6 separate regions of the Homo sapiens genome follow, and all the other regions are linked to region 6. Evidence: promoter capture Hi-C in human tissues and cell types (Jung and others, 2019). All regions are on one chromosome and are shown on one strand. The core of a region is centred on a gene start or on the middle of the fragment in contact, and the rest is flanking DNA. Distances in the headings are between cores, read along the strand shown. Region 1 has its middle 2.7 kb from the start of PTGR2. Region 2 overlaps RBM25 (RNA binding motif protein 25). Region 3 overlaps ZNF410 (zinc finger protein 410). Region 4 overlaps PSEN1 (presenilin 1). Region 5 overlaps PSEN1 (presenilin 1). Region 6 holds the start of ACOT1 (acyl-CoA thioesterase 1).

The links. Contacts are between HindIII fragments. The study calls those that stand out against the background at their distance.
Region 1: a fragment that was not itself captured here is called in contact with the fragment with the promoter of ACOT1 in region 6 in 2 of the 25 tissues and cell types used here (dorsolateral prefrontal cortex and mesenchymal stem cells).
Region 2: a fragment that was not itself captured here is called in contact with the fragment with the promoter of ACOT1 in region 6 in 1 of the 25 tissues and cell types used here (dorsolateral prefrontal cortex).
Region 3: a fragment that was not itself captured here is called in contact with the fragment with the promoter of ACOT1 in region 6 in 2 of the 25 tissues and cell types used here (dorsolateral prefrontal cortex and spleen).
Region 4: a contact is called between a fragment that was not itself captured here and the fragment with the promoter of ACOT1 in region 6, in 2 of the 25 tissues and cell types used here (dorsolateral prefrontal cortex and mesenchymal stem cells).
Region 5: a fragment that was not itself captured here is called in contact with the fragment with the promoter of ACOT1 in region 6 in 1 of the 25 tissues and cell types used here (liver).

What each region holds. Positions count from the first base shown.
Region 1 is chr14:73,847,492-73,850,770 of GRCh38, forward strand. No RefSeq gene overlaps it. Among named protein-coding and RNA genes, the nearest start is that of PTGR2, 2.7 kb to the right of the region's middle. The HindIII fragment of the contact is 4,503 bases long and covers 1-3,279 here.
Region 2 is chr14:73,114,661-73,118,163 of GRCh38, forward strand. The region is part of intron 18 of RBM25 (RNA binding motif protein 25); the gene reads left to right. Among named protein-coding and RNA genes, the nearest start is that of PSEN1, 20 kb to the right of the region's middle. The HindIII fragment of the contact is 4,963 bases long and covers 1-3,503 here.
Region 3 is chr14:73,898,784-73,902,547 of GRCh38, forward strand. The region is part of intron 5 of ZNF410 (zinc finger protein 410); the gene reads left to right. Among named protein-coding and RNA genes, the nearest start is that of ZNF410, 14 kb to the left of the region's middle. The HindIII fragment of the contact is 5,178 bases long and covers 1-3,764 here.
Region 4 is chr14:73,201,455-73,205,052 of GRCh38, forward strand. All of the region lies in intron 8 of PSEN1 (presenilin 1), which reads left to right. Among named protein-coding and RNA genes, the nearest start is that of PAPLN, 34 kb to the right of the region's middle. The HindIII fragment of the contact is 4,667 bases long and covers 1-3,598 here.
Region 5 is chr14:73,180,449-73,183,722 of GRCh38, forward strand. The region is part of intron 5 of PSEN1 (presenilin 1); the gene reads left to right. Among named protein-coding and RNA genes, the nearest start is that of PSEN1, 46 kb to the left of the region's middle. The HindIII fragment of the contact is 5,864 bases long and covers 1-3,274 here.
Region 6 is chr14:73,534,930-73,538,708 of GRCh38, forward strand. It overlaps ACOT1 (acyl-CoA thioesterase 1), which reads left to right and starts at 2,214. Exons shown (of 3, transcript NM_001037161.2): 1 at 2,214-2,949. The coding sequence starts at 2,493. All of the region lies in intron 1 of HEATR4 (HEAT repeat containing 4), which reads right to left. The HindIII fragment of the contact is 14,338 bases long and covers 1-3,779 here.

The sequences.
Region 1 (3,279 bases), core at 405-2,904, 310 kb after region 6:
CCATCTCAAAAAAAATTAAAGTAAATAAATAAATAAATAAGCTTTTATTTAATAGCAGTGAAATAGCTTATAGCATTCAAGCCCCTAAAGAGATCAGTCATACCAATAGGAGGTACAGGGGAGAAAATTTTGCTTTGCAATTTTGAGATACATTACCCACAGTGACTTTAACTAAAAGGAGTGGGAGAAAATTCAGGTCCAACAGAGGACAACTCTGACTGGCCATGTTAGTTCCAAGCTCCCCGGGGAGTTCAGCTTCTCCTGTTGCCCAGTCCTGCTTTCTTCCTCTTCCTCCGATAGGTATTGATTCAAAAGGTATTCCCTAATAGACATCCTGCATACCAAACTCCCCATCAGGGTTTGCTTTCCAGAGAACCCACCTTGTAATAGGCACAAATATGACCTTTTTCTAAATGCTCAATTTTTCTGAAAAAGCATTTATTTAAGCTTGAGTTTCACAGGATTCGGTTACAGCATTTTTTTTTTTTTTTTTTTTTTTTTTTTTTTTTTGAGACAGAGTCTTGCTCTGTCACCCAGGCTGGAGTATAGTGACGTGATCTGGGCTCACTGCAACCTCTGCCTCCCAGGTTCAAGCCATTCTTTTGCCTCAGCCTCCTGAGTAGCTGGGTTTATAGGCGCTCGCTACCATGCCCGGCTAATTTTTTGTATTTGTATTTGTATTTTTGTATTTTGTATTTTTAGTGGAGACAGGGTTTCACCATGTTGGCCAGGCTGGTCTCGAACTCCTGACCTCATGTGATCCGCCTGCCTCAGCCTCCCAAAGTGCTGGGATTACAGGCATGAGCCACCGAGCCCAGCCAGGTGTGGTTTTTATCTCTTACTTTGTTCTGTTATCTCTTTAGGATGTATGTTTGGGTTTGAATTTGTGTCATTATGAACAATTATCACCTCCATGGAAAAATGTTTTATTTAGCATCAAATAATCTTTGATGTTGCACTAAGTGTCATATACCATGCAGGTTGGTCAAACTTGAATGATTTCTCCTGAGTAATTTGCTATCATACGAGGTTATTTTCATTTAAAAATAATTTAATGAATGAAAAAACTAAAAAATAATTTAATGAATGAGTATACAAACATATTAGATTAAGTATTTATATTTATTTTATTTATTTATTTATTTCTGAGATGGAGTCTTGCTCTGTCGCCCAGGCTGGAGTGCAGTGGTGCAATCTCTGCTCACTGCAAGCTCTGCATCCCGGGTTCATGCCATTCTCCTGCCTCAGCCTCCTGAGTAGCTGGGACTATAGGCGCCCCCACCACGCTCAGCTAATTTTTTTGTATTTTTAGTAGAGACGGGGTTTCACCGTGTTACCCAGGATGGTCTTGATCTCCTGACCTTGTGATCCGCCCACGTCAGCCTCCCAAAGTGCTGGGATTACAGGCGTGAGTCACTGCGCTCGGCCAAGTATTTATATTTATTATGCATTTTTTTTTTTAAGAGACAGAATCTCATTCTGTTGCCCAGGCTGGAGTGCAGTGGTGCAAACACAGCTCACTGCAGCCTCGCCCTCCTGGGCTCAAGTGATCCTCACACCTCAGTCTGTCAAGCAGCTGAGACAACAGGCACACACATCACACCAGGCTAATTTTTAAAATTTTTTGTAGAGGTGGGTTTTGCCATGTTGCCTAGGCTGGTGTTGAACTCCTGGGCTCAATCGATCTTCCTACCTCTTGGCCTACCAAAGTTCTGGGATTACAGGTTTGAGCCACAGTGCCTGGCTTTTTTTTTTTTTTTTTTTCTTTTTTTGAGACAAAGTCTTACTCTGGCACCTAGGGTGGAATGTAGTGATGAGATCATAGCTAGCTGCAACTTGGAATTCCTGGGTTTAAGCGATCCTCCTGCCTCAGCCTCATGAGTAGCTGCTGGGACTGCAGGTGTGTGCCACCACACCTGGCTATTTTTTTTCTTTTTGTTTTTTTTTTTGGTTGTTGTTTGTTTTTTGTAGAGATAGGGGTCTCCTATGTTGCCCAGGCTGGTCTGAAACTTCTGGCCTCAAGTGATCCTCCTGTCTCGCCTCCCTAAGTGCTGGAATTATGAGTGTGAGCCACTGCACCTGGCCTATATTTATCATGCTTGAATGAAACAATATATACTATGTATTTTTTTTTGATAAGATGGAGATGAGAAGAATTGACACTTCCTTCTAGTGAAGTCTAGAAAATGATTCTCAGGGCTGGGCGTGGTGGCTCATGCCTTTAATCCCAGCACTTTGGGAGGCCAAGGCAGGTGGATCACCTGAGGTCAGGAGTTTGAGACCAGCCTGGCCGACATGATGAAACCCCATTTCTACTAAAAATACAAAAATTAGCTGGGTGTGGTGGCATGCACCTGTAGTTCCAGCTACTCAGTAGGCTCAATTGCTTGAACCCGGGAGGCAGAGGTTGCAGTAGGCCGAGATCGTGCCACTGCACTCCAGCCTGGGCGACAGAGAGAGACTCCGTCTCAAAAAAAAAAAAAAAAAAAAAGAAAAGAAAAAAGAAAAAAAAGAAAATGATTCTCAGGAATTGCTTGAACGATGAGAAGGAGGCAGTACAAAGTTCTGCAAAGAGGGAGGAGTAGGGAATTCCAGATTTATGGCAAATATAACAAAGGGTCAGGTGCTTGGACTCAGGCAGGATAACTTGCTCCTTTACTTATTAGTTACTTAACCTGACTTAGAACTTAACTAGCTTAACTTCGGTTTCCTCATTCGTAAAATGGTAATAATAATAATAGGGCTGTTTTGAAAATTAAATCATGTAGGCAAAAAATCATATAAGGCATTATCCAACTCAAACTACGCATTATGTAAATGATAGTAATCCTTGGTGTTAGAGAAAATTTAGAAGAAGAGGATAAACTGGATAGAAATGTACCTATAAATCCTCTACTCATCTCTTGAATTTTTGGGAACTCATTTTGGCGAGAAAAATCACACTTGTTACAAGGAGTTCACAGACCCTAGAATCAAGAGAGCTAAAACTAATTAATACACATACATATATTTAAAATTTTTGAGACAAGGTATCAGTCTGTCACCCAGGCTGGAGTGCAGTGGTGTGATCAAGGCTCGCTGCAGCCTACTGAGCAGCTGAGAGACTACCAGCAAGCACCACCACACCTAGCTAATTTCATTTTATTTTTTATTTTTTGAAGAAATGCGGTTTCACCACGTTGCCCAGGCTGGTCTCGAACTCCTGACTCAAGCAATCCACCTGCCTCTGCCTCCCAAAGGTCTGAGATTACAGGCGTGAGCCACTGCGTCCAGCCCCAA
Region 2 (3,503 bases), core at 924-3,423, 420 kb before region 6:
TGAGGCGGGTGGATCACAAGGTCAAGAGATCGAGACCATCCTGGCCAGCATGGTGAAACCCCGTCTCTATGAAAAATACAAAAATTAGCTGTGCGTGGTGGCGTGTGCCTATAGTCCCAGCTACTCGGGGAGTCTGAGGCAGGAGAATCACTTGAACCTGTGAGGTGGAGGTTGCAGTGAGCCGAGATCATGCCATTGCACTCCAGCCTGGTGACAGAGTGAGACCCCATCTCTAAATAAATAAATAAGGCTTCATTCTTTTCCACCAGTTCCATTCATGTTTTCCCTATGCCCAGCACAATGTGCTAGAAGCATAAAAGTAGAACAAATGACCTGTAGTAGCAGAGAGATAGGTATACAGGTACTGGAACCTTGATGTACTTGTTTGAATTAGATATGTAGAAAGGATAATGGAGGTAGAGGAGATAGAACATCTGATGGCATTGATAGCAGTTAGGTTAAGCATCACAAGGATTACTACAGGAACTGATACGTGTGTGTGTGTGTGTGTGTGTGTGTGTGTGTGTGTTTTAAGTCGGATACATGTGCAGGTTTGTTACATAGGTAAACTTGTGTCATGGGGGTTTGTTGAACAGATTATTTCATCACCCAGGTGTTAAGCCTAGTACTCATTAGTTATTTTTCCTGATCCTCTCCCTCCTCCCACCCTCTGCCCTACGATAGGCCCCATTGTGTGTTGTTCCCCTCTCTTCGTTCATGTTTTTTCATCATTTAGCTCCCGCTTATAAGTGAAAACATACTGTATTTGGTTTTCTGTTCCTGTGTTAGTTTGCTAAGGATAGTGGCCTCCAGCTCCATCCATGTCCCTGTAAAGGACACTATTTCGTTTTTTATGGCCACAAGATTGTACATATGTGCTGCTTTTTGGACAGGTATCCAAACACCTGTTGTATTGACAGTAAACATCAAATCCCCGTTGCATTTAATTTGGGATTACAGTCAGTGGTAGCATGTAGTTAACACTGTGATTTTGTGAGACAAGGAAAGGAGAAGAAAATTGATGGTAAAGGTTGAGCAAGAGATTGAACTATGATCTCCAAGTTAGGAAGAGAAGAAAATAGTATCTGAATAGAGCTGGTGGTTTGAATGAATTAAGGACTAGTGGTTCCAGTGAAGTTGTGGAAGGCGAATTGTAATAAAACAACTGAAAGGAGAGGTTATGGTCAGAGTGTAGAAAGTTCAAGTCTATATGTGATAGGTCAGCCCAGACGATGGCAAGGTGCATAGTATGACTATGGGAAATTCCTGGGTATTGGGAGTCAGATTGGAGAGAAATACTGGAAATAGTTGCCAGAGCACTCATTTAAGTGGGGGGAAAGACTAGATACTTGCCAGATAGCTGCTCTTACAGTGGATAAGGTGGTGAGAGCTCATGAACGTCCATGGAGTTGTTTTTTTTTTTACCAAGAAAGAAACAGTGAAGACCCACAAGTCATTCCTGTGGAGATTAAGACATTGAGAGTGAGAGACTGCCTGAGAAGTGCCGGGGCTCTAGGAGATAGAGGAGGGTTTCTGTTAAGAGGAAAAACCTAATTTAGTTGTTGATGTGTAGTATAAAATGGAATAGCGGTCCAAAGGGCAGAGCGGGAAGACAGCAATGGGAAGATGAGTAAGGAAGGAAAAATCATCAAGCATGATATGAAATGGTAGATGACTGGGAGTACTTGCACTTGGAACTGCCACCAGAGATGTCAGGGAGGGACATCGTGGGGTTTATAGTCAAAAAGAAGGATTGTGAGGTCTAGCTGCTTTGTGTCCAGGCATTTTATGGTGTCTAAAGCCAGATAACATTCCTTTTCTGCTGCCTAGCTAGCTTGATGCAGCTGTCATTTAGAACACCTGATAAAACATTTGTGAAAACTTCATTGCCTCAGAGGAAAGGAGAAATGTGAATAGATTTCAGTCCTTGGGGCTGAATTCTGAACTTTCCTGAAGCTTCCAGCCCCGTTTTTCTTGGAGTAGAGGGTGTCGTAGTTAGGCCTGAGTGAAGACATTTTTTAAATAAAACTGTGTTCTAGCGTTTGGCCTCAGCAGAGTTCCTATCATACATAGTAAAGATTTCATGTCAGTGTTAATTTTAGATTTTTTGATCTGTTGTAATATATTGATATTTGAAGTGTATTTAGACCACTGTTTATGATTTTGTGGCTCGTTGATTAGAATGAGAGGAAACCAGTTGAGCTAGTGTTGTCAAACAGCTCTGCTAAAAAGCTCATGGGGCCTTGTAAATATTTCTTGAATAAATGAGGAGACTGAATTTTTAGCCTGAGTACTGTTTCACTCTTAACAAAAGTCTGACTTCTTTATATTATACCTTTTTCATTTTATGTAAATTAAATGAAGTTTGGTTGCATTTTGTGCCTACATCTCTCTGAAGTGTGACTCAGATGTGAATTAGTGTTACAACAGAGTTCTTCAACTAAAGTCAAATCTGGCTCATAGAAATCTGATCAAAAGTTCTTTAATTAATTATTGCTATCATTGAGAAAGTGACAGAAATTTCTTTCTTTTAATTTCTTTCTTCTTTTCTTTTTTTTTTTTTTTTTTTTTTTTTTTTTTTTTTGAGACAGAGTCTTGCTCTGTTTCCCAGGCTATATGGAGTGACAGTGGCGCGATCTTGGCTCACTGTAACCTCCACTTCTTGGGTTCAAGCAATTCTCCTGCTTCAGCCTCCCAAGTAGTTGGGATTACAGGTGCCCACCCGCACGCCTGGCTAATTTTTGTATTTTTAGTATTGACGGGTTTCACCATGTTGGCCCGGCTGGTCTCAAACTCCTGACCTCAGGTGATCTGCCTACCTAGGCCTCCCAAAGTGCTGGGATTACAGGCGTGAGCCACTGTGCCCAGTCTCTTCCCAGGTATTTATTAAGCACTTGTTATATACCAGTCAGTTGTCAGAGCACTTAACTACATACCAACTCTTTTAATTCCCACTTAGTACCTACTGCTATGGTGTGTAGCTACATCGCCTCCACTTTAGAGGTGAGGGAACTGAGGCTCAGGTTAAGTAACCCAACCAAGGACCTATCGCTAGTAAGAGGCAGCAGTGCAATTTGAACCTATGTAGCCTGACTAGAGAATTTGAACCAATGTAGTCTGACTAGAGATTGAGTACTCTAAATTCCTACCCCAAACTTCCTCTATGAAGACCTGGCAACACTAGACCACATTTCTGGAGCACAGTCATAGCTGCCCCCTTCAGAAGGGAGCAGAGTAGGCCATTTCACCTCATAGCAGCCATAATGTAGAGGGGCAGATGTGTGTATGGGATGATGGCAGGAATAGTGATGGGGACACAAGGACCCTATAACTCATAAGTAGAGAGGAAGACAATTTCCTCATCCACCACTGGAAGAAGACTTGTTACTCAGTAGTCATGTGTGCCCCGTGATGATTGTATTTGCTTATTGTGTTTACTGTATTCTGGACACTGTACTAAATACTTATATTCTCATTTAATGTTCACTTTAGTGTCACATACA
Region 3 (3,764 bases), core at 219-2,718, 360 kb after region 6:
GTTCAGCATGCCTATACTACTTACTCTGTGTCACTTTTCTCTGTTCTAGTAATTTTCAAAGCATTGTCACTGGATCATTGACGTCACGTGGGAACTGAGAAATATAAACTCTCAGGCCCATGCCAGACCTACTGAGTCAAAAACTTGGTTCTGATACATGTTAAAGCTTGAGAACCACGGCTCTATTCAGACCACTGCAGAATCTTTGCTTATGTAGCATGTCATGGATACTTTTTTAGGTCTGCCTCTGTGTTTTCTCATTAACATGTGACACAACTCAATACAACATGGTTTAATGCTATCATTATCACAAACTAAGCTTAAGCACTTAGTACACAGTTGTTTGGAGTTTATGCAGATTATCTAGTATATGCTTATTATTATTTTTTGATTACCATTCAAATGAAAATAAAAAGTTAAAATTTCTCATAGAGAACTAGAGTTCCCTATGAATATTTTGAAACATTAAATCTTTTTTTTTTTTGGTCTTTTTTTTTCCCTTTTTATGGAGAATGAGGTTTTGCTCTGTTGCCAGACAGGTCTCAAACTCCTGGACTCAGGGTCTCCTCCTGCCTCTGGCTCCCTAAGTGCTGGGATTTTAGGTGTGAGCAACCATCCCCAGCCAAACTCTAAACTGTTTGTTTTCAAAATACTTAGTTCTGTTTATGACTACCATAGTGCTACTTAGAATGGTTCATTTTAACATTTTGGTGGGACCCTTAAAGTTCAGATTCTTCCTGAGATATATGTGCCAATCTCCAGATGCTGAAACCTTCAGCATTTCCTCTTACATTGAAGAAATAGTGTCATATTTGCCAATGAGAAGCAGCGTAGGGAGGGGAGCTTGCAATTTAGAATCTGGGAGCCCTGGGATCCAGGCCTGGCACCATCATTTACTGGTTCCCTGCCTTGGGCAGTTTAACCTCCCTTAGCTTCAATTTTCTTACGATCTGAACATAGAGATCAGGCAGCTTTCCTGACTGGCTTGTTATGGAGATTATGTAACATTCTATCTGGGAAATGTTATAATCAGCAAAGCATTGTGTGGATGTTTTTCTTACTCTCAAAGTATGTTGCCTTACTATCTTAACAACTACTTTGTATGCCTGAATATAAAATCACCCCAAATAGGCTGGGCATTGTGGCTCATGCCTGTAATCCCTGCACTTTGGGAGGCCGAGGCAGGCAGATCATCTGAGGTCAGGAATTCGAGACCAGCCTGACCAACGTGGAGAAATCCCGTCTCTACTAAAAATACAAAATTAGCTGGGCGTGGTGGCGCATGCATGTAATCCCAGCTACTCAGGAAGGCTGAGACAGAACTGCTTGAACCCGGGAGGTGGAGGTTGCAGTGAGTGGAGATCGCACCACTGCACTCCAGCCTGGGCAACAAGAGCGAAACTTGGTCTCCCAAAAAAAAAAAAAATCACCCCAAATATAAGACAATCTTTTATTTTCCAACAAGATAATACCCTAAAAGCCTTTTATTTTTTTCTAACTTAGTTATGTAAACTTTTAAGCATGTAGATAAAATTAACATTATAGGTTGCTATTTGGAAGCTTTATGATTTTGGTTATACATACACATTTTAATTTTTTTTTTTTTTTTGAGACCGAGTCTCAGTCTGTCGCCCAGGCTGGAGTGCAGCGGCGCAATCTCGGCTCACTGCAAACTCTGCCTCCTGGGCTCAAGTGATTCTCTGCCTCAGCCTCCCGAGTAGCTGGGACTACATGTGCATGCCACCATGCCCAGCTAATTTTTGTATTTCTAGTAGACACAGGGTTTCACCGTGTTGGCCATGGCTGGTCTCAAACTCCTGACCCAAGGTGATCTGCCTGCCTCTGCCTCCCGCAGTGCTGGGATTACATGCGTGAGCCACCGTGCGTGGTCCCACATATACATTTTAAATCATATGAAATATATCAATATTGCTTTCACCCACTAACACAAGCTTGTCCAACATACGGCCTGTGGGCACGTGTGGCCCAGGATACCTTTGAATGCAGCCCAACACAAATTCGTAAACTTTCTTAAAACATTATGAGATTTTTTTGTTTGTTTGCTTTTAAAGCTCACCAGCTGTCATTAGTATTAGTATATTTTATGTGTGGTCCAAGACATTTCTTCTTTCAGTGTGGCTCAGGGAAGCCAAAAGATTGGACACCCTTGCACTAACATGTAATGAAGTGATTTTATTCAATATTTTAATGCATTTTTAACATAAATATTTTTGTCATTGTTGACACTGAAGTCACTTTATGAGTCCTCTAGCATAGTTTTTCAGAGCATGTTATCTTCACTTACAGTCTAAGTTGTTTGAAATACAGAAACGTTTTAATTTTGCATAAGATGTTGTATATCAGATCAGCAAAGGCCTTTGGGCCAAATCCCCACCTGTTTTTATAATTAAAGTTTTATGGGAACATAGGCATCCACATTACTTACAAATTGTCTAAGGCTGCTACTATGGCAAAGCTGAGTAGTTGTAACAGAAACCATACGGCAGCCGGGCGCAGTGGTTCACACCTATAATCCCAGCACTTTGGGAGGCCAAGGTGGGCAGATCACTGGAGGTCAGGAGTTCAAGACCAGCCTGGCCAACATGATAGAACTCAAATACACTCTTTTCTGAGGGATTTTTTTTTTTTTTTAGGGAAAAATTTGCGTTATATTTATTTGACCATATATTGATAATCTTCATTCTTGAGCAGGAGGAGTTTCAGTGATTTCTTAGCCTTGCCTTATTCTATGTATTCATTTTTCCTATTTTATGATTATATTAATATTCTTATTGTATCTATAAAACGGAATCCAGAAAGCCCCTACTATCACTGATTTGAATCACTGTATTAGCATGATTTTTTTGGCCGGTGCAGTGGCTCATGCCTGTAATCCCAGCACTTTGGGTGGCCGAGGCGGGTGGATCTGTTGAGCTCAGGAGACCAGCCTGGGCAACATGGCAAAACCCCATCTCTACAAAAAAAAAATAGAAAAAATTAGCCAGGTGTGGTAGTGCACACCTGTCTCTAGTCCCAGCTACTTGGGAGGCTGAGGTGGGAGGATCTCCTGAGTTGGGGAGGTCGAGGCTGCAGTGAACCGAGATCATGCCACTGGATTCCAGCCTGGGCAACAAAATGAGACCCTGTCTCAAAAAAAAAAAAAGAAAAAATTTAAAAGAAAAAAGCATGATGTTAACAGACCTTTCATTAGAAATCAATTAGCTGGAGTTCTGGGGTTGGTGGGAAGATTCCTTCACGGCATATGTATTTTTGTGCTATATGTGTAGTTTTTTTTTTTTTTTTGAAACGGAGTCTCGCTCTGTCGCCCAGGCTGGAGTGCAGTGGCGCGATCTCGGCTCACTGCAAGCTCCACCTCCTGGGTTCACGCCATTCTCCTGCCTCAGCCTCCCGAGTAGCTGGGACTACAGGCTCCTGCCACCATGCCTGGCTAATTTTTTTTTTTGTATTTTTAGTAGAGACGGGGTTTCACTGTGTTAGCCGGGATGGTCTGGATCTCCTGACCTCATGATCCACCCACCTCGGCCTCCCAAAGTGTTGGGATTACAGGCGTGAGCCACTGCGCCTGGCCCTGATATTTTTCAAGTAAACACATTTTTAAAAACCTTGGGGCAATATTAAAGAAAAACTTAATAGTAACTAGCAGGAAGCATCCTAGGTTCTGCTCTGACCTTGGAGCAATTAGTTTTATGACTAGTATTTGGTAAAGTATAGCAAGGAGAAGATTAATAGATGGGACAGAAACT
Region 4 (3,598 bases), core at 905-3,404, 330 kb before region 6:
CTAAGATGTCATTAGTGACATTGAAGAGAGCAGTTTCAGTAGAGTGATAGAACCAGAAGCAGTACTCCAAAGGGAAGGTGCGTATGTGTGCATGCATGTCTCTGTGTTTTGCCAGTGCTGGCAGTGGAAGTGATGGTGTAGGCAGAGAATGGGTGGTGAAGAAGGAGAGGTATAGTAAATGTCATGTACTACATCAAAGATTCCTGTCTCACAGGCAGAGCAGGTGGTGACCTGACAGGAGAACAGGTTTCAGGAAAGGTGTTTCAAGGAGAGGGAAGGTTCCATTTTATTTTATTTATTTATTTTTTTTGAAACAGAGTCTTGCTCTGTTGCTCGGGCTAGAGTGCAGTGGTGTGATCTTGGCTCACTGCAACCCCCGCCTCCCAAGTTCAAGCAATGGTCCTGTCTCAGCCTCCGGAGTAGCTGGGATTATAGGCACCCACCACCACATCCGGCTAATGTTTGTATTTTTAGTAGAGTTGGGGTTTCGCCACATTGGCCAGGCTGGCCTTGAACTCCCCACCTCAAGTGATCCACCTGCCTCGGCCTCCCAAAGTGCTGGGATTACAGACGTGAGCCACTGCACCCGACCTGTTTTATTTTATTTTTGAGGTAAGTCTTGCTCTGTTGCCCAGGCTGGAGTGCAGTGGCGCAATCTCAGCTCACTGCAACCTCCATCTCCTGGGTTCAGGCAATTCTCCTGCCTCAGCCTCCCGAGTAGTTGAGATTACAAGCATGCGCCACTATACCTGGCTAATTTTTTTTTTCCATATTTTTAGTTGAGCCACAGGTTGGGAGAAGGGAAAATACATTCTACTCAAAGTGAGTCCGTGGCAAAAGTGTGAGTACAGAGATGGGTGAGGAATTAGGACCAGACTTTCAGTCTGCAGCAACATTAAACATGTATGTTAATTTAATACTCAGAAAGAAGCATTTACTCTGTTTTAAAATATCTATCACATACTATATATATATATATATATATATATATATATATATATATATATATTTTTTTTTTTTTTTTTTTTTTTTTTTTTTGAGACAGTCTTGCTCTGTCACCCAGGCTGGAGTGCAGTAGCGTGATCTCGACTCACTGCAAGCTCCACCTCCCGGGTTCACGCCATTCTCCTGCCTCAGCCTCCCGAGTAGCTGGGACTCTAGGCGCCCGCCACCATGCCTGGCTAATTTTTTGTATTTTTAGTAGAGACGGGGTTTCACCGTGTTAGCCAGGATTGTCTCGATCTCTTGACCTCGTAATCTGCCCTCCTCGGCCTCCCAAAGTGCTGGGATTACAGGCGTGAGCCACCGTGCCCAGCCTATCATATATAATATTTTTAAAACTCAACGTCTGTGCTCGCTTTAGCAGCACATAATAGTAAAATTGGAATGATACAGATGATTTGCATGTATTTTTTTAAAAGTTCTCAAGTCTATTTAATAACCACAGAATATGAGACATTCTGAGATGTTTTAGAAACAGTTCAACATATGTGGGAAAATAGGAGTATAAACCCTTACCTCCTGTGTAGATCAGGTAGGTTCAAGATTGCATCTGTTCTTTTGTAATACTAAATGTCTGGTGAAGATTTGAGGATTTTATATAAATCATTGAGTTTGAGAGGTTTTTTTGTTTTTGTTTTTGAGATGGAGTTTCACTCTTGTTGCCCAGGCTGAAGTGCAATGGCACAATCTCGGCTCACTGCAACCTCCGCCTCCCAGGTTCAAGCGATTCTCCTGCCTCGGCCTCCTGAGTAGCTGGGATTACAGACGCCTGCCACCACGCCCAGCTAATTTTTTGTATTTTTGTATTTTTAGTAGAGAGAGGGTTTCACCATGTTGGCCAGGCTGGTCTCAAACTTGTGACCTCAGGTGATCTACCCGCCTCACCCTCCCAAAGTGCTGGGATTACAGGCATGAGCCACCGCACCTGGCCTTCGTTTTGTTTTTTCAACAGAATGTAAGAATTTTTTCTTACATTTTTCTTACATTTTTAACAGAATGTAAGAAAACCACAACGCAATGCCGATGAGTACTTTTTCCCTGAAGTGGATATAAGCATGAATATAAAAAGTTTTAAATCAGTCATCCTGGCTATTTGTTCTCTAAAAATCAATAAATAATTCTTTCATGCATTTTAATACTGTCTCCCAGTTAAGGGTATTCAGTTTGCAAAATGCTCTTACTGACAGGAAATGTATGAGCATTTTTGTTTTTTACTTCTGTCGTTTGACAGAAAAAATATACACCTACTCTTTGAGCTAATTTATTCTTACCTAGTGGTCATTAGTAGAAGTGGTTCACTCTGGGAGCTTAACTAGAAGGGAAACTAACAATTCCTTGAGGTAGATCATTTTATCTAAAGCTTTTTGATTTCATATCAGTTGGGGGCGGGTATATTATGTTAATTTTTAAATCTGCATATTTTCCAGCCAGGCATGACTATAATCCCAGGACTTTGGGAGGTAGAAGCAGGAGGATTGCTTGAGCCCAGGAATTCAAGACCACCCTAGACTACATTAAAAAACATATTTTTTTGTATTTATTTTTTATTTTATTTTTTTGAGACAGAGTTTCGCTCTCATTGCCCAGGCTGGAGTGCAATGGCACGATCTCGGCTCACCACAGCCTCCGCCTCCTGGATTCAAGCAATTCTCCTGCCTCAGCCTCCCGAGTCGCCGGGATTATAGACATGCACCACCACACCGGGCTAATTTTGTATTTTTAGTAGAGACAGGGTTTCTCCATGTTGGTCAGGCTGGTCTTGAACTCCTGACCTCAGGTGATCCACCCACCTCCGACTCCCAAAGTGCTGGGATTACAGGTGTGAGCCACCATGCCTGGCCTTTTTTTTTTTTTTTAATTTAAACGAAATCTGCTTATTTTCCTGTTGATGTAAGGTGTTTGTGTTAAGGTGAAATGAAAAGTGATTTTTAAAAAAATATTATTTTAGGACTATTTAACAAATATACTATTTATGATAATTAACATGGGGTTAGCAAACTACTGCTTGAAGCCAAATATGGCCCATGGCTTGTTTTTGTACAGCTTATAAGCTAAAAATGCTTTTTACATTTAAAAAAAAAAAAAAAGAACAAGGAAGAATATGTGACACACAAAACCTGAAATGTTTACTCCCTGGCCATTTACAGAAAAAGTTAGCTGGACATTGATTTTCATGTTACTATTAACTGCTAAAACAAAGGAGCTTGTAGCTATATTTTTTCATACTTGCATAAAGAAAGAAAACCTAATAAATCGCTGGTGGCTTCATTTCCAAAAGGCTATGGAAATCCATAAACAGGCTGGGTGCAGTGGCTCATGCCTGTAATCCTAGCACTTTGGGAGGCTGAGGCGGGAGGATTGCTTGAGCCCAGGAGTTTGAGTCTGGCCTGGGCAACGTAGTGAGACCCTGTTTTTAGAAAAAATGAAGATAAAAAACTAATCCATAAACCTCATACTTGGTGGTTGCCCTTCAGTTTTTCTTCTTTAGATCTGGATTTAGTTAAACAGTGTATTGCCTGCCTGGTTTCTGTTAACTTTTGATCATTTGGTTGGGTTATCCTATAATGAAACTTGGTTGACCTCAGAAATAACAAGG
Region 5 (3,274 bases), core at 755-3,254, 350 kb before region 6:
CTTTTGAGTCAGAGATTGAGTAACTTGCCAGAGCCTGTTTGGAAATAAACCCTGAGGATTTTTCATATCAGTGGTTGGTTATGCAATGTCTGTGGCAAGCCCTAGAAACTAAAAGACCAAACCTTAAAATGTTAAAAACAGGAAAGGCAGTTAATTATTATACATAATTTGTTATAAAAGGAACTATAACTTATTAAAGTCAGATGATTTCTGGCCTTGATAGTTTAGGGTTTAGAGAAGATACTGTTGTGTACTATAAAACAGCAGGGCTGTTTTCTTTCATACCCTTTAGCACAGGAAAGCTGAACTAGGGATTTTTGCAAGATGAGAAAGGCCTGTTGAAATGTGTGTGTATAACATAGTAATAAAAGAAATGCATATGAAAATAACAAATTAACATATTTGACATATTGACTTTGTCAAGATTAGTCTTTTTTGTCAAGTAACTAAGCCAGTGTGTATTAATTAAATCAGTAATTAGAAAAAGTTTGTACACTTTGATTTAGTAATTTTGCTTTTATGATATATTCTAAAGAAGGAATTAGAAATGCAGAAAAATATTTGTGAAGTAGGATGTTCATTTTAATGTAAATTAAAATTGGGGAAAGAAAGGGAAAACAATACAGATTCCATGCATAAGGCAAAGGTTCAATTGTGGGTTTATCCGTATGAGTAGACTATTATTTTGTCATTTAAAAATCATAGTTTCAGCTGGGCGTGGTGGCTCACGCATGTAATCCCAGCACTTTAGGAGGCTGAGGTGGGCGGATCACCTGAGGTCAGAAGATCGAGACCAGCCTGACCAACATGGAGAAATCCTGTCTCTACTAAAAATACAAAAAAATTAGCTGGGCGTGGTGGCGAGTGCCTGTAATCCCAGCTACTCAGGAGGCTGAGGCAGGAGAATCGCTTGAATCTGGGGAGTGGAGGTTGCGGTGAGATTGCGCCATTGCCCTCCAGCCTGGGCAACAAGAGCAAAACTCCATCTCAAAATCAATCAATCAATCAGTCAATCAATCATAGTTTCACGCCAGGTGCAGTGGCACGGACCTGTAGACCCAGTTACTTGGGACCCTGAGACGAGATGATTGCTTGAGCCCAGGTTTTCCAGTCTAGCCTGGGAAACATAGTGAGACCCCAGTCTCTTAAAAAAAAATCATATTTTCAAATAATATTTGGTGGCATGAGAATATGTTTGTAATAAAAGATTACATTTGTGAAAGCAGAATGTAAACAGTACACTAGTTGATTCTCACTGTTAAGGTCTTTACACACGCCTATACGTGCAGATAGAAAACATGTCTGAAAGGGAAACGGTTTTATTTTGTTTCGTATTTTTTTTTGAGACAATGTCTCACTTTGTCAGTCAGGCTGGAATGTAGTGGCACTGTCTCGGCTCACTGCACCCTATACCTCCTGGGTTCAAGCAATCCTCCCACCTCAACCTCCATGGTAGCTGGGACTACAGGCACCTGCCACCACGCCTAGCTAATGTTCGTATTTTTAGTAGAGACGGGGTTTTGGCATGTTGGTCAGGCTGGTCTTGAACTCCTGACCTCAGGCAATCCACCTGTCTCAGCCTCCCAAACTGCTGGGATAACAGGCGTGAGCCACTGTGCCTGGCCTGAAAGGGAAATGTTGGTATTAATTTTGGTTGTCACTGGCCTTTAGAATAGTTTTCTTCTTTTAGTGTTTCTGTGTTTCTTAAGTGTTACAAGCATATGTTACTTTTGATTCAGAAAAATGCTATTTTTAAAATAAGCAAGACTGGGCACGGTGACTCTCACCAGTATGGCTGAGACCAGAGGATCACTTGAAGCCAGGAGTTCAAAACCAGCTTGGGCAACAGAGTGAGACCCCCACCTCTACAAAAAGAAAAAAAAAAAATTAAAAAATTAGCCAGGCATGGTGGTGTACCCACGCCTATAGTCCTAGGTACTAGGGAGGCTGAGGTGGGAGTATGGCTTGAGCCCAGTGGTTCGAGATTGCAGTGAGCTACGATCATGCCACTGTACCCCAGCCTGGGCAACACAGTGAGGCCCTATCTCAAAAAATAATTAAAAAAAAAATATTTGGGGGCTCCTAGAAGGTACAGTTAAAAAAATTAAAATTAGGCCGGGCATGGTGGCTCACGCCTATAATCCCAGCACTGTGGGAGGCTAAGGAGGGTGGATCACTTGAGATCAGGAGTTCAAGACCAGCTTGGCCAACATGGTGAAACTTCATCTCTAATACAAAAATCACCTGGGCGTTGGTGGTGGGTGCCTGTAATCCCAGCTACTCGGGAGGCTAAGGCAGGAGAATTGCTTGAATCTGGGAGGTGGAGGTTGCAGTGAGCCAAGACCATGCTACTGCACTCCAGCCTGGGCGACAAAGTGAGGCTTCATCTCCCAAAAATAAATAAATAAAATTAAAAAAAGAAATAAATAAGAACATCTCCTTCTTCCTTTGCCAAAAAACCGAGGTGAAAAGCATCTCTCAAGAATGATGAGAATTTCAATTATTTAATATTTACTCTGGTCCTTAATTTAAAGCTTAATATGGAATCCCAGTGTACATCTCCCACTGGTATTGTTTGTCTTGGCCAAGACAGACAAGTTTTAAAGAGTGAGATAAAATTTAGGCTAAAGTTGAAGTATTTGGAGGGAAATGTACAGATGTTCTCAGCTTACCTTTTTTGTTTTTTTGAGATGGAGTCTCGCTCTGTTGCTCAGGCTGGAGTGCAATGGTGCGATCTCAGCTCTCCACAACCTCCGCCTCTCAGGTTGAAGTGATTCTCCTGCCTCAGCCTCCCAAATAGCTGGGACTGCAGGTGTGTGCCACTATGTCTGGCTAATTTTTGTATTTTTTTTTTTTAATTTATTTTTTATTGATAATTCTTGGGTGTTTCTCACAGAGGGGGATTTGGCAGGGTCATAGGACAATAGTGGAGGGAAGGTCAGTAGATAAACAAGTGAACAAAGGTCTCTGGTTTTCCTAGGCAGAGGACCCTGCGGCCTTCCGCAGTGTTTGTGTCCCTGGGTACTTGAGATTAGGGAGTGGTGATGACTCTTAACGAGCATGCTGCCTTCAAGCATCTGTTTAACAAAACACATCTTGCACCGCCCTTAATCCATTCAACCCTGAGTGGACACAGCACATGTTTCAGAGAGCACAGGGTTGGGGGTAAGGTCACAGATCAACAGGATCCCAAGGCAGAAGAAGTTTTCTTAGTACAGAACAAAATGAAAAGTCTCCCATGTCTACTTCTTTCTACACAGACACGGCAACCATC
Region 6 (3,779 bases), core at 964-3,463:
TACCACTGCATTCAGCTACTGGGGGAGTGTTTGACTAGTCTTTTTAAAAAATATGTTAATATCTTGGTAAAAAGTATATTTATACTGTTCTCTAACCTGCTTTTTTTCATCAGTTTCATGGAAGAATGCTCATCATATATTCTTCTGCTTTATAACTAAACTGCTTTCATTTATGACATCACAATTAAACTGGTAAAACCAAATTTATATTGCTAACTTGTTTCTAATTTTTTCTCTATTAAAATGATATGATTAGCATCCTTGTAGCCAAATATTTACACATATTTATGAAGTTATACTTAAAACAAATTCCTAGACGTGGAACTGTGAGTCAAAGAGAAGGGATCTTTTAAATATTTTTGCATAGATTGCCATGAAAAGGTCATACCAGTTTATATATCCACCAATATGAGTTTCTTTTCCAAATCTTCTTCAACATCCTGTGAGAGACAGTTAAACATAGTTGTTCAGAGCCCAGCCTTGAGAATCAGATTTCAAACATATGAACCCTCTCCCTTTTTCTTTTCTTTTTCTTCTTTCTTTTTTTTTTTTTTTTTTTTTTTTTTTTTTTTTTTTTTGCCCAGGCTGGAGTGCAGTGGCGCCATCTTGGCTCACTGCAAGCACTGCCTCCAGGGTTCACGCCATTCTCCTGCCCCAGCCTCCCGAGTAGCTGGGACTACAGGCGCCTGCCACCACGCCCGGCGAATTTTTTGTATTTTTGGTTTTTTTTTAGTAGAGACGGAGTTTCACTGTGTTAGCCAGGATGGTGTCGATCTGCTGACCTCGTGATCCACCCGCCTCGGCCTCCCAAAGTGCTGGGATTACAGGCGCGAGCCACCGCGCCTGGCCCCTTTTTCTTGTTAGAGACAGGGTCTTATCCAGGTTGGTCTGAAACTCCTGGCCTTAAGAAACCCTGCCACCTCAGCCTCCAAGTAAACTGGGATTATAGGCGTGAGCCACCTCACCCAACTTCCACTTCCCAGCTGTATGATCTTCAGAAAATCAGTTAAATTCTCTGGGCCTTAATTTACTACTACGGTTCTTGTAAGTATTAACAATTAGCTACTATTATTTACCTTCTTTAGTTCCTGAGACTTCTATGCACAGAATATACTTGATGTGTGCCACAGAACCTATACAAAGGTAATTACAACTAACAGGGAGTTGTATGATAATGACATGGGACATGGGACATGAGAGCATTTGGAAAGAGATAAAAAGGCTTACCTTGAGGACAGCCTTATTAGGAGCAGAGGCAAACACAGGTTTTGTGAGTTTGAAGCTTACGCATTTATAGGTTTCTCTAATTACCAAGATAGGAAATTATGAAATCAGGTACAAGGGCTTGGGAGGGGCCTAAAGCTTAAGTTTGATGAAAAAAAAAAACCACCTCTGGTTGGAACCAATAGCCTATGAAAAAGTAGAAAAAAGCCCAATGCATGGGGAGCGCCGGTAGTCCCTTGAGGTGTTTGAGAGGCTGAGGCAGGAAGATGGCTTTAGCCCAGGAGTTTGAGGCTTGTAAGTGCGCAGTGATGGTAAACCGCCGCTGTACTCCAGACTGGCAACGTAGTGAGACCCTGTCTCTTTAAAAAAAAAAAAAAAAAAAAAAAAAGATGAGAGGTAACACTTGCCTGACTGGGACAAAAATGAGAAACCAGTATAAGAAAATAATAACTATTGGCCGGGCGCGGTGGCTCATCGCCTGTAAATCCCAGCACTTTGGGAGGCCGAGGCGGGCGGATCACAAAGTCAGGAGTTCGAGAAATTAATAACTATTACCTCATTTGGCTATTTTTACACCTGTAAGGAATAAAGCTCAGAGGTCACACAGCTAGTAAGAAGCCAGCACCCTTCGATGTGGGAGTGATGTGGAGGATAGGCATATACAGAGAACACGAAAGCAAAACACCATGGTGCAGATTTTGAAAGAAAAGCCCTAAGATTAGTAATGAGTGTGAATTATTCAACAAAGTGATCAAAACCAACTCCAGTCCTGCATTCCTCTTCGCCATCAGGAGTTTGGAGCCTGGAGACTGCTAGCTGCCTGGTTGTTGTTGTTTTTTTTTTTTTCTGAGACGGACTTTCGCTCTGTCGCCCAGGCTGTAGTGCAGTGGCATGATCTTGGCCAACTGCAAGCTCCACCCCCCGGGATCACGCCATTCTCCTGCCTCAGCCTCCCGAGTAGCCGGGACGAACCAGTCCTGGCCCAGCCCATTCCGCGAGCCAGCAAGCTTCTGAAAAGCAAACCTAGGAAGTTGCTTTCCAACATAAAGTGGAGGTTTCAACACAGGAGACTTTAAGCAAGTTCCAGTGTGTCTATATTTGGTCTGGCTGATCGGCTGGACTCTGGCCTTCCCCGCTCACATTAGCAGACAGCTCTGCCCTAGTGGGCGTTTAGCCTGCGACGGCAGCCCGAGAGGAAGAGTTGGGCAGAGTTGCAGGGGTCTCCACAGCTGAGGCAGTTTGGCCGGATTATTTGGGTTCCTGCTCGGATGGCGGCGACGCTGATCCTGGAGCCCGCGGGCCGCTGCTGCTGGGACGAACCGGTGCGAATCGCCGTGCGCGGCCTAGCCCCGGAGCAGCCGGTCACGCTGCGCGCGTCCCTGCGCGACGAGAAGGGCGCGCTTTTCCAGGCCCACGCGCGCTACCGCGCCGACACCCTTGGCGAGCTGGACCTGGAGCGCGCGCCCGCGCTGGGCGGCAGCTTCGCGGGGCTTGAGCCCATGGGGCTGCTCTGGGCCTTGGAGCCCGAGAAACCCTTGGTGCGGCTGGTGAAGCGCGACGTGCGAACGCCCTTGGCCGTGGAGCTGGAGGTGCTGGATGGCCACGACCCCGACCCCGGGCGGCTGCTGTGCCGGGTGCGGCACGAGCGCTACTTCCTCCCGCCCGGGGTGCGGCGCGAGCCGGTGCGCGCGGGCCGGGTGCGAGGCACGCTCTTCCTGCCGCCAGGTGACTCACCTCCGCTAATTGTTCCCCTCTGCCCATCCCTGTTCCTGCGCTTTCCACTGTGTGTGTGTGTGTGTCCCCTTCGCCCCGCCCCGCTCTTTTCGCTTGTGTGTGTGTCCCTCCTCCCGCCCCACCACCACCACCCCGGGCTATGTTGCCCAGGTAGGTCTTGAACTCCTGGACCCAAGCTATCCTCCCGCCTCTGCCTCCCCAAGAGCTAGGATTGCAGGGTGAGCCACTGCGCCCGGCCCTTTGAGGGGAGTTACACTTATTTTTTTATTTTTATTTTTTTTCGTCCCTGCGCTTTTCATACGGAGAAAGGATGTAGCTTCCAACATTCCGGAGGTTAGTGTAAGGAGACAGGAATGGAATGGAAAGTTGGTTGGGGAATTGCCCCTGCCGCTCCAAAACTGAGAGGTCCCTCAAACCTAGTGCTCAGTTAAAAGACATTGTAAGGGCTGGGCGCGCTGGCTCACGCCTGTAATCCCAGCACTTTGAGAAGCCGAGGCGGGCGGATCACGACGTCAGGAGATCAAGGCCATCCTGGCTAACACGGTGAAAACTCGTCTCTACTAAAAATACAAAAAATTAGCCGGGCGTGGTAGCGGGCGCCTGTCGTCCCAGCTACTCGGGACGCTGAGGCAGAAGAATGGCATGAACCCAGGAGGCGGAGTTTGCAGTGAGCCAAGATCGTGCCACGCACTCCAGCCTGGGCAATAGAGTGAGACTCCGTCTCAAAAAAAAAAAAAAAAAAAGGCATTGTAAGGAAAGAGAAAAGACACATAATATTAAAAACAAACAAAACAAAACAAAAAAAACAGGCCGGACGCGGT